Regions from separate parts of the Homo sapiens genome. Here all the other regions are linked to region 3. The links are contacts of gene promoters, found by promoter capture Hi-C in blood cells and fetal thymus (Javierre and others, 2016). All regions are on one chromosome and are shown on one strand. The core of a region is centred on a gene start or on the middle of the fragment in contact, and the rest is flanking DNA. Distances in the headings are between cores, read along the strand shown.

Region 1 (3,948 bases), core at 618-3,117, 540 kb before region 3:
TGCAAGCTGAAGATGGTTTGTTACCCATTTAGAAAGAGAAGCAAGAAAAAGGCATCCCTTTTGTCTCCTTCCTTTTGGTGTGACCAAGTGTGGAGGAAAAGACAATGGGGGCGTCCTCTCTGCTGTTTTCCCTCCTTGGTTCCTAGGTCCTGGCACCTTGTTGAACACGCCACCCATGGTTGTAAGTGTGACCGCCCCCCAGCCATGGAACCAGAGGAACTAAGCAATTGAGATTAGTCACGCTTACCCATGTGACTCTAGTCCTCTGCCTGTGATTTCCCTTTGACTTCCTAGACTTGTGTGATCTGTGTGCCTCCCTGAAAAATGGATATTGGGAAGGACTACGTAATAGTTGCCTTTGGAGCTGGGCACAGTGGCTCATGCCTGTAATCCTAGCACTTTGGGAGGCTGAGTCATGTGGGTCACCTGAAGTCACCCAGGTTGGTTCGAGACCAACCTGGCCAACATGGCAAAACCCCATCTCTACTAAAAATACAAAAATTAGCCAGTCTTAGGCCGGTTATGGTGGCTCACGCCTGTAATCCCAGAACTCTGGGAGGCCGAGGTGGGCGGATCACGAGGTCAGGAGATCGAGACCATCCTGGCTAACACAGTGAAACTCCATCTCTACTAAAAAAAAAAAAAAAATTAGCCGGGCGTGGTGGTGGGCGCCTGTAATCCCAGCTACTTGGGAGGCTGATGCAGGAGAATGGTGTGAACCTGGGAGGTGGAGCTTGCAGTGAGCCGAGATCACACCACTCCACTCCAGCCTGGGCGACAGAGCAAGACTCCATCTCAAAAAAAAAAAAAAAAATTAACCTGTCTTGGTGGCAGGCACCTATAATTCCAGCTACTCAGGAGGTTGAGGGGGGAGAATCACTTGAACCCAGGGCGCAGAGGTTGCAGTGAGCCAAGATTGGACCACTTCACTCCATCCTGAGTGAAAGAGCAAAAACTCCATCTCAAAAAAAAAAAAAAAAAGGTCGTTGCCTTTGGAGGGTATTAGATTGAACTCCATATTTTGCTATTATGGCCCATGCTGAAGCATTTCCCCCTAGAGAATGGTTCTCATTAACTTCTGGACTTAAAATCCCCTTAATAAGTATTGCTTTAACTGGAGACATAAATAGGTGACTTAAAGGAACATAGGGACCTAATAGTGATTTTCCTGCTGATGGGACAGTATTGGAACTAAAATTTGGTTCTGGAGGACATTTTGCTCCTAATTGTTGAATGCAGAGTTTTCCCATCCACAGAAGCAGCATAAAGCTTGGTCTCTAGTAGAGAGGTGCAAAATGGGAGAAGAAGTGGGAAGGTACAGTGTTATGTCAAAGGACCGACAACGCCTCATGGAGATGATTTTTAGTTCACTAGGTGGCGATATTGACCTTAAAATGCCACGTGCTCTCCAGCTCAAGGGCAGAGAGTGACCTGGAGATGCCATGTGCTTTCCAGATCAAGGGCAGAGGGTGAAATGCTCACTGTGGGAGAAGACTTTCTGTTCCTAGGAAATCACAATGGCATTCCCCTGAGCTATATTCCAGTTACTACAGCATTTCCTGATCTTTCCTAACAGGATTACTTCCCTGAACTATAAAAATTCCTGCACATTGCATGCAGAGAAAATAGGAGACATGGTGACCATGGATAGAAGAGGAGGAAAATTTTGTAACAGGATAGCTAGAGATCCTTTTTGCCAGCACTCAGATGGGTGGCCAAAGGCTGGGTTCAACCCAGAAGCCTCTGGATAACACCAGGGTGTGCCCTGGCCAGAAATCCTTAGTTGCTCCAGGACCTCTCCCAGCCCCATGCAATGGCTGGGAGTGTGACCCCCCCAGCCATGGAACCAGAGGAACTAAGCGATTGAGTTCCATGAAAGGAAACTGGTTTGAAGCATTTTTAAATGGAGTCTGAGAGCCTTGATATTAAAGGTCAGATTTGAGGTTTGCTCCACACTTACTGCTCTGATGTTTATACTTTCCATTTTGGTTCTGATCCTGCATGAGCCCCCAGATGAAGCGGCATTGTTGTCTAGGGTAAATACCCAGGGTTCATTGTCTCGTGCCAAGAAAATTAAGGACACAAACACATGTGGGTGGGTTAAGGAGCAGAAAGTTTAATAGGCAGAAGAAAGGAGAGAGAAGAGCAGCTTCTTGTGAGAGAGAGGTGTCCGAAAAAGGGAAAAGTGGCAGACCATAGCAGATTTTATAGGCAGGCTTGGTAAAGCCCACTGATCCGTTCAATCAGGTTTGATGTTTACATAGCCCACAGGGAAGGCTGGTTTCCCCACCCTAATCTTATTATGGAAATGGGCTTTCCACTTGGCCAGCGCCATCTTGTCTGCTCCTTACTATACACATGACTGACAAAGAGAAGGGAAGATGGAGCCACCATTTTGAACTTGCCTAGTCCCACATAGTATTTTTCTATTGGCACAACTGCTGGCATTCACCTGTGCAAGCTTCCAGCTTGCTTGTCCATGTCTGTAGCTCAATTTTACAGGCTGTTCTTTGTTAGAAAAGAAAATGATTTGAGGGCTGCTTTTTATTAAAAGGAAAACCTTACCAATACCCTCAATATCTGCCTAAGTAATTTCTTCTTAACTCTTAGTGCTAAAGGTCTTAGCTGATAATAGCCACTGACAGCAACAGGCACTGTTAAGGGCTTTTTTCTTTTTTCCAATGTTTTATTATGAAAATTTTCTAATAGATAAATCTAAGTTTAAAATATTATCAGATGAACATCCATGTACCCACCACCTAGATTCTACCACTTACATTTTACTGTACTTGCTTTATTATATATCCATTCATCTATCCATCTATGGAAATATTTTAATCTTGGAAGAGCTCCTGGGAGCACCGTGTTGAGTCATCTGCTCTGCTTAGAATGTCAAAGAATAACTATTATGCCACATTGCATGAGTGGGGAGCACTAGCAAAACTATGTGCTTTTCTGACTAGGTGTGGTAGCTCACTTGAGGTCAGAAGTCTGAGACCAGCCAGGCAACATGGTGAAACCTTGTCTCCACTAAAAATACAAAAATTAGCTGGGCATGATGGCACACTAGTGTAATCACAGATACTCGGGAGGCTGAGGCATGAGAATCACTTGAGCCCGGGAGGTAGAGATTCAGTGGCTGAGATCACGCCACTGCACTCCAGCCTGGGCAAGAGAATGAGACTCTGTCTCCAAAAATAAAAATTAAATTTAAAAATAAACCATTTGCTTTTTCAAAAGAAGGTACAGGAGAACTTTGTCAAGAATCCAGATTAACATCAAGGAAGACTTCAAGGATGACTTCCCAAAATGGATCAATGTCTTTTCCTATCCAACTCCCAAACTTCTGGTGCAACAGCCCTGAACAAACTATTTGCAGCACCAGAATGGCAAGAACTATCATTTATGACAATAAGTCTATCTTTATTTCACTTGAGATGAGGGAATTTGTGATCAAGTGTGACTAAACCTACAGATGGACAGGCTAAGATAGTACAGACCTCTAGGTATCAACTTTCCAGGTTTTGTATCCCTCCACATCTATTATTTTTAAAGAATGTGACTAAGAGTAAATGAATCAATGTTTTAAAAAATAAAGCAGAATCTCAAAACTGGCTTTGACCACTTGTAGCAAGACTTAAGGGGCATACAGCATTCTAGCTGCAGTGTTGTCTGTAGGGGCTCTTCACATAGGCTTCTTCCAGGAGTATGTTCCCACGTCTGTGACTCAGGTTACTGGGCCTATGACATGTAAGAGCAGGCAGGCCAATGTGGCATCCCCACTCAAAGGTGTCCCTTGAAGCATGTGAGAGATGATGCAGTGCCAAAAAGGTGAGCCTTCTGCCAGAGGGCAGGACATTATTGGAGGAAATGTCAACAAGGACCAGGGGCAGAATCAGTGGGGCTGGCCATGCAGAAGGGAAAACTTGTGACACGGCTCAAAGGAGT
Region 2 (4,226 bases), core at 600-3,099, 990 kb before region 3:
GTCAATTGTTTTCAAAAAATCATGTAAATAAAATCCTATTTCAAAAGCAGGAGGAGAGGTTAGGAAGGCTGTCATTTATTAATTACACATTCACACATACAAACAAACAAACAAAAATCCTGTGTAGTTAGTCTTTTCATAGTGTAAACTGCCCTTTGGGTTTGTTCCAGAAGTTTGCATGTTTCTAACAGAGTTTTCCTAAGTGTACAGCCATATAAATTTGGAAAAAGAAAAATTTTAGTGTTTCCATGTAGGAAACAAAAGCAGTCTTAGGGCAATCAATTTCCTATCCCTTTTGTTATATACATCACTACAAAGGATGATTGCGTGACATGGCCTTAATATGGCCATAAAAATGATTAACTTCTAGACTAAAAAAAGGATAACGCGCTAAATATATTCCACATATTTTTGCCTTGTAATTCCTGTAATTATTTTTCACTATCTTTATCTCCCAAAGAAAGATCTGGGAGCAATAAATCTTTCTCTCCAATAAAAAGCACTAACAATCAAAGGCGTTCCGTAAATCCAGAGAAAGTTTTGGCAACTAAGGCAGAATTTCTTCCGTCCCGTCCTTACTTCATGTATCTCCACCTAGGATATTCCGTTATTAATGCCAGTCAACAGTCACTGGCTAAAGCACTGGTCAGGTGAAGCTAAATAATAGAGGGTCTGGTTTTGTTTTTAAGAAAAACAAAAACCAGGTGATGAGAACCCTCCATACGAGGCATCCTAAGGTAAGGTGACGGAATTTTCCGACTGGAGTGTCGGAAACTAGCCTCTCGACTCCCGGAAGGAATGAACTGCGAGCCAGAGAGAAGACCAGGTCATTCATGCGGTCAGTAGCAAGGGCGGCGCTAAAACGCTGGGGTCGGGGCTCCCAAGGCGCTACCTAAACCCCGGACCCCAAGGCCAGAGCCACCCCCGACGGTGCAGCGCTCCGAGGGCGCAGCCCCAGCTCCACTCTCCCGCCAGCTCCACACTCACAGGGCAGAGGCGGTGAGGAGAAGACCGCCTGAGGCAGCAGGCGAGGCGGGAAGACACTCGGCGCCTGAGACAGAGGGAATGCCCCGATATAAGTTGAGGCGGGGGAGAGGACTAAAGGTCTGGAGGACAGGGGCGTCCAGAGGAGAAAGGGGCCTAACTCTCACCCTTGTCGCACGCCAGCAAGAAAAGCTTCTCATTCAGCGTATTCTCCTCCTTCACCTCCCGCACATCCTTCAGCGCCATCACCTCGTTCGGCGAGGAAGAGGATGGAGAGGAAGGCAGGGAGGAGGAGGAGGCGCCCGAGAGGTCCGTGCTCGGGTACAGGGCCGCCATCATCGCGGCCCATGAAGGGGGCAGGCCAGGAGACGGGGGCGGGGCCCCCACCGGCCCCGACCCCGACCCCGACCCCAGCCACGCCCCAGGGCTGGAAAAAGGATGAGTCGTTCCCACTGCTGCCTCGGCTCGAGGCCCGTTGGCCCCGAAGGGCGTCGCCTCCCCTGAGAACCAGCACTCGCCCTCCACTGACAGCCCCAAGTTGGTGGCGGCGCATGCGCGGCCCCGGGGCCAGCGACCCCTCCCCAGCCGCCGGCGCCCCGGCCGAGCCGGTCCGCGCCCGTCCGGGGACGACAGTGTGGCGCGCGCCAGGGCGGCAGCCGAGCACGGGGCCGTGCCAGGAGTCGCAGGGGCCGCGCCTGGGGCGGCCTAGCCCAGGAAGAGGACGAGAGATCTGTGGGAGAGGAGCTCCAAGAGGCGCTTCTGCGCACGTTGGGCTCCAGGGCTGTGGGAACCGCTGGCCCAGCTGCGCTCCGAGGAGATGTTCGCGACTCTGTCCTCACGTCATCCTCTGCTCCTCTGTAGCGACGACACTAGGGAGGAGCCTGCGGCAAGGGCGGGCTTGGGTGGGCGGGGCCTGCGGCAAGCGGGGCGTGGGTGGGTGGGGCCTGCGGTGGGGACGCACTGGGCTCCTGGAGCCCGCTGCAGCTTCCTTCGCTCTGGTGAGGTGAACCGCAGTCTGAGGAAGACTTCGCTCAATCGTCCCTTTCCACACCCAGGGTACTGGTTTAAGGTAATTAAGCAAATATGGAGCAGTATGTTAATTGAGTCTCTGACGACTTAATGTTTAGTCGAAATCCTTTGTGGAATTGTCCAGCTATTTCATATTCTGGTGCACTATGCTTTAAAGCACAATGGAGAGCCAGACTCGTGGGTTTGTATGTTGTACTCATTTTAGGCTGGAAATGAACTCTCATTTATAAAGGATATATAGATATATAATTATATTATGTTTAAATAATTTATACAAATATATAAATTTTTATTTCCATATTATTTCCATAGGTTTTTGAGGAACAGGTGGTGTTTGGTTACATGAGTAAGTTCTTTAGTGATGATTTGTGAGATTTTGATGTACCCATCATCGAGCAGTATACACTGAACCTAATTTTGTAGTCTTTTATCCCTCTCCCCCTTCCCAACCTTTCCCCGAGTCCCGAAAGTCCATTGTGTCATTCCTATGCCTTTGCATCCTCAAAGCTTAGCTCTCACTTGTGAGTGAGAACATACGATGTTTGGTTTTCCATTCCTGAGTTACTTCATTTAGAATAAGAATAATAGTCTCCAGTCCCATCCAGGTTTCTGCGAATGCCATTTATTCATTCCTTTTTATGGCTGAGTAGTATTCCATCATTATATATATATCACATATATATATACCACATATATATATATATATATATATATCACAGTTTCTTTATCCACTCATTGATTCATGGGCATTTGGGTTGGCTCCACATTTTTGCAATTGCGAATTGTGCTGCTATAAATATGCATGGGCAAGTATCTTTTTCGTGTAATGACTTCTTTTCCTCTGGGTAGATACCCAGTAGTGGGATTACTGGATCAAATGGTAGTTCTACTTTTAGTTCTCTAAGGAATCTCCACACTGTTTTCCATAGTGGTGTACTAGTTTACAGTCCCACCAGTAATGTAGAAGTGTTCCCTTTTCACCGCATCCACACCAACAGCTATTATTTTTTGATTTTTTTGATTATGGCCATTCTTGCGGAAGTAGGGTGGTACATACGGCATAGCAGTTTTGACTTGGAATTCCCTGATCATTAGTGATCTTGAGCATTTTTTCATATGTTTGTTGGCCATTTGTGTATCTTCTTTTGAGAATTGTCTATTCATGTTTTTTTGTTTTTTCTTGAGACAGAGTTTTGCTCTTGTTGCCCAGGCTGGAGTGCAATGGCGTGATCTTGGCTCACCGCAACTTCCGCCTCCCAGGTTCAAGTGATTCTCCTGCCTCAGCCTTCCGACCAGCTGGTATTACCGGCATGTGCCACCACACCCGGCTAATTTTGTATTTTTAGTAGAGACAGTGTTTCTCCCTGTTGGTCAGGCTGGTCTCGAACTCCAGACCTCAGGTGATCTGCCTGCCTCAGCCTCCCAAAGTGCTGGGATTACAAGCATGAGCCACTGCCCCCAGCCCTTTTCATGTTTTTAGCCCAGTTTTTGTTAGGATTTTTTTTTTCTTGATTATTTGTTTGAATTCATTGTAGATTCTGGATAGTAGTCCTTTGTCAGATGCATAGATTATGAAGATTTTCTCCCACTCTGTGGGTTGTCTGTTTACTCTGCTAACTCTTCCCTTTGCCATGCAAAAGCTCTTTCATTTAATCAAGTCCCAGCTATTTATCTTTCTTTTCATTGCATTTGCTTTTGGGTTCTTGGTCATGAAATCCTTGCCTAAGCCAATGTCTACAAGGGGTTTTCCGATGTTATCTTCTAGAATTTTTATAGTTTCAGGTCTTAGATTTAAGTTCTTGATCCATCTTGAGTTTATTTTTGTATAAGGTGAGAGATGCAGATCCAGTTTTATTCTCCTACGTGTGGCTTGCCAATTATCCCAGCACCATTTGTTGAATAGGGTGTCTTTTCCCCCACTTTATGTTTTTGTTTGCTTTGTTGAAAATCAGTCGGCTGTAAGTATTTGGGTTTATTTCTGGGTTCTCTATTCTGTTCCATTGGTCTATATGCCTATTTTTATGCCAGTACCATGCTGTTTTGGTGACAGTAGCCTTATAGTATAGTTTGAAATCAGGTAATGTGATGTCTCCAGATTTGTTCTTTTCGCTTCATCTTGCATTGGCTATGCAGGCTCTTTTTTGGTTCCATATGGATTTTAGGATTATTTTTTCTAGTTCTGTGAAGAATGATGGTGGTATTTTGATGGGAAT
Region 3 (3,827 bases), core at 357-2,856:
CCACCATGCCTGGTCAGCTTTTTATTTTAATTTTTAATTGTACAGACAGGGTCCTGCGATGTTGCCTAGGCTGGTCTCAAACTCCTGGGCTCAAGTGATCCATGTAAAATAAGTGGGTCATGTCTAATATCAAGGTCTTTCAAAAGAGAAAGATAAAAATATCTGAATCCAATTGTTGTAAATCCTCTTTGAAACAAGCCCTTAGGAATAAAAGACAAAAGAGCATAAACTGCGAAATCTCTTGATTCTGGTATGTTTACAGTCTCACCCCCCTTAAGGTGAGCAATTCTCTGTATGTTCTCCAATTCTCTCATTTTTCAAGACAAGTCACAGTTTTCAAACGATAGAAATGTCCGTTTTCTTTAACTACCCTCAATAAAGAATTCCACTGAAGAGGGTCTCATAGTAATTTTAAATGCCCTATCTGAAAATACAACTTGCATTTAAATAGCACCTGCTTTTCAAAGTGGTCTGAGTTCTTAGAACCATATAAAATATAACAAGATTAAGCTGTTCTGAAAAGTTTCACTTGGTCTAATATTTTAACTCAAAATATCACAGAAAGAAGACATATTTGTAAGAGGGTTCTCCACAAAGGCATGACTCAGAGCAGCACAGTATCTTCTCCAGGAAATGGCATCCAATATGGAGAGGGGGGTGTGATGGAGGTGAAGTTTTACGTTTCTGAAAAAAGGGCTTACAATTCTTCAGCTTCCATGAAACTTAGATATTCTTGAACCACACTGTTCCCTTCAAGCCACGCTAGTGCTATCTGACCCGTCTTAAATCAATCCAGATTTAAAAGCCATTCGAAGAGCGGCGGTAAGCTAATCCGGAAATGCAATGGCTATGAACACTTTCCTGCGTCCCTCGAGGAGAACTAAGGGTGTCGTTTTGTGGAAGATGACTCTGGAGCATCACTTTGGTGGTGACCAAGACTATTAAAGTTCACTGCTGAATCACGGCCTTTACCCTGACCACCTTGTGTTGAGCTTTTAGAGGTGGGGCTGGGGCTGGACACACAAACCGAAGTGTTTCCTGCTAGTTCCCAACAATCACCCGGTTTTACTTTCTTGGTCACACCCATCACTACCTGAAATTACCTTGTTTAACTCCGTTTATTGCCCGTCTCTCTCCCTAGAACACCAACCACCCGGCGCAGGGCGCCTGTTGCACAACCCCGCAGCCCCAGGCGGCGGCCGCAGCCCTCAGGAGCCGCAGCAGGAGCGTGGCTCCGCGTTCCTCCGGCGCCGGGGCAGGGCGACCTCCACCCACTCTCCCAGGCAGGGCACTTTCCGAGGCTTCTGACGGACGCCCGTCCCTTCCCAACCCCGAGGTCGGCTCCCGGAGGCCGCAGGGCGGCCCTGGACTCGCGTGCAGCGCTTACCCATCACCTGGACCCTGCAGATGGCGCACGTATCGCACTCCACGTCCCAGCTCCACATGGCCACCGCGTTCCACTTCTTGAGGGAGAACATCTTGTCGCCTCCCGACTTGGAGCCTGAGCTCCCGGAGTGAGAGGCCAGGGCGCAGGTTTCCTCTCCGTCTTCCACGTCGGCCATGGCGGCGCCGCGGAGCCGACGGCGGAGACGTTGGCTTGGGGAAGGCGGAAGGCTAGGGCGGCTCTGTGGAGCCGCCCGACGGGCCACAGCGCCGCCCGCAGGCCGCCAGCCACCGTGGTGCCTAGACCCCGGCTGCCCACGATTGGCTGGCGCGGCACAGTGACGTCACCTGACGCCAGCGCCAGGGGGGCGGGCAGGCCCCGCCCTCGCCGTCCTAGGCCAACTGAGAGGGCTCGGGCCCTTATGGGGCGACGCCGCTGAATCTGCCTGCTGCGCTGCGGGGTGTTACGTCTGAGCAGGCGCACAGATTGTGCAGGGATATGTGTCCTGCTTTACGGCTTCATTAAACCTACTGCTCTCAGAAATTATCTTGTTAATTTATTCGTTTGTCTCTTCCCTCCCAAATGTAAAACTCTATCAGAGCAGGAAACATGTTGCTATCACCACATTATCCTCCGTATCTGCAAAATGCCTGGCCACAGGAGGCACAATTATTTGTTGAGTGAATAAATGATCTTAAAGATCTAGAAATCTGGTTCAGTGATTCTCAAAACTTTTTGGTCCCAGGACTCCTTTTCACTTAAAAATTATTAGGACCTTAAAGAACTTTTATTTATGTAGGAAATGTGTAAATATATATATATATACACACACACATATTATGTATGAATATATATACACATATACAATGAATATATGTATATTCATATATACATACATTTCCTGTATATGTATACACACATATGTAGAGATTAATGTTTGCTTTTGAAGAAATTAAAACATTTTAAAATGTATTCATTAAAAATCACAGTAGTAACCTCATTACAGGTTATCATTAGAGGGATGACTTCACATACCATGTAGTTGCTAGAAACTCCGGTGTACACTCGTAGAATGAGAGTGAAAAGAGAGAAATAGCTCTAAATATTGTTAGGCAACTAGTTTGCCCTCTTTTGACCGCTAAAAGAGGTCGGGATCCCAGGAGTCCCGGTGTGTGGCGACACAACCCACACTTATTTTTCAGGCCCCGCTCCCTCAGCTGCACAGTCTCCATTCCTTCTGCTCAGTACATTTGAGCTAGTTTAACTTCCTCTTTTTATATGTAGGACTAATGAGGTCTGAAGAAGTGAAATGACAAAGATCACATCGTTATTATAGTAGTGCTTCTACGGCTAGCCCACCATCACATGTGTTTCCAAGAAAGCCGGTATCTCCATTGAAAAGAAAACAGAAGCACAGCCAGCCTAAGGAGATGCCTGACCCCACCATCACCTAGTGGTGGACAGCTACTCTGTCAAGTTTGGATTCTGAGCCTCTCCCCATCCCCTCATTTCCTGATACCTGGGCAAAAGCTAACCAGACTAATGGAGCCTGGCAGGGGAAACAAGAATGCATTAATATACAGAAACATAAATATGGACACAGGGTCACATTTGGTTAGATGCAAATGCGTATTTGTTGAGTGGTGTGTTAAGGGCTGTGAGGGTACAGGATGCAGTGAGGGAAAGCCTCATGAGAGAGGTAGAGGATGCAGTGAGGGAAAGCCTCATGAGAGAGTAGAGGATGCAGTGAGGGAAAGCCTCATGAGAGAGGTAGAGGATGCAGTGAGGGAAAGCCTCATGAGAGAGGTGAAGTTTGAACTGGGGGAACATGGGAGGTCTTCAGGGCCAGTGGAGAGAGCAAACCTCTCTGAGCTGTTGGCCAGAGCAGGGCACAATGGTGGCAGCAGACAGGAATTGGACCACACCTACTTTATAAGCCAGACACCCATTGGAGTGAGCACACAAAACATGTGTTCTCTTCTTACTGAACGACCACACATCTGCCTAGAGATGGCTGTAAATGCTAGGTATCTAACAAAGAAGGAAGGCTGGCACCAGAGGAGGATAAAACGCACCCAGTTGGTGAGAAGTTTGAAAGTCAAAAGGATGAAATGGTGAAAAGGAAAAGAATGGTTTCGCTGGAGGAATGGTATGTGCCCTTGCTGAGGCATGAAATCTGGAGAGAGGTGTCTGCTGCAATGAAATTTAAAATAGAAGCCAGGAGGGAGCATAGGGGCGGGAAGTGGGAAGGCAGGTGGAGGAGATGAGTACAGTTTTGACACACTGCATGTCAGGAGAACTTTTTCTCCTGACAAAAAGAACAGGAATGAGTGATGCGCCAGAGTTCAGTGCAACAAGCAAGCATGCATGGGGAGAAAGGAAAGCAGGAGTGAGGCAGAAAGTTCAGGCTGCAGCAGCTGTTCAGGCGTGGTGGGGCCAACGG

The links. Contacts are between HindIII fragments. The CHiCAGO score rates a contact against its expected background, and 5 or more counts as called.
Region 1: a fragment that was not itself captured here is called in contact with the fragment with the promoter of RNF7 in region 3 in 7 of 17 cell types (naive B cells, fetal thymus, naive CD4 T cells and 4 more); the score reaches 10.3 in naive B cells.
Region 2: a contact is called between the fragment with the promoter of TRPC1 here and the fragment with the promoter of RNF7 in region 3, in 3 of 17 cell types (total B cells, fetal thymus and total CD4 T cells). The highest score is 7.7, in total B cells.

The regions. Positions count from the first base shown.
Region 1 is chr3:142,277,614-142,281,561 of GRCh38, reverse strand. No RefSeq gene overlaps it. Among named protein-coding and RNA genes, the nearest start is that of GK5, 54 kb to the right of the region's middle. The HindIII fragment of the contact is 1,192 bases long and covers 1,272-2,463 here.
Region 2 is chr3:142,721,657-142,725,882 of GRCh38, reverse strand. It overlaps TRPC1 (transient receptor potential cation channel subfamily C member 1), which reads right to left and starts at 1,849. Exons shown (of 13, transcript NM_001251845.2): 1 at 1,152-1,849. The coding sequence starts at 1,323. RefSeq lists an enhancer at 431-1,297 and a silencer at 1,556-1,605. The HindIII fragment of the contact is 1,344 bases long and covers 1,179-2,522 here.
Region 3 is chr3:141,736,077-141,739,903 of GRCh38, reverse strand. It overlaps RNF7 (ring finger protein 7), which reads right to left and starts at 1,606. Exons shown (of 3, transcript NM_014245.5): 1 at 1,388-1,606. The coding sequence starts at 1,562. RefSeq lists enhancers at 455-1,133, 1,334-1,573, 1,134-1,813, 1,924-1,973, 2,014-2,063 and silencers at 1,134-1,313, 1,574-1,833. The HindIII fragment of the contact is 15,473 bases long and covers 1-3,827 here.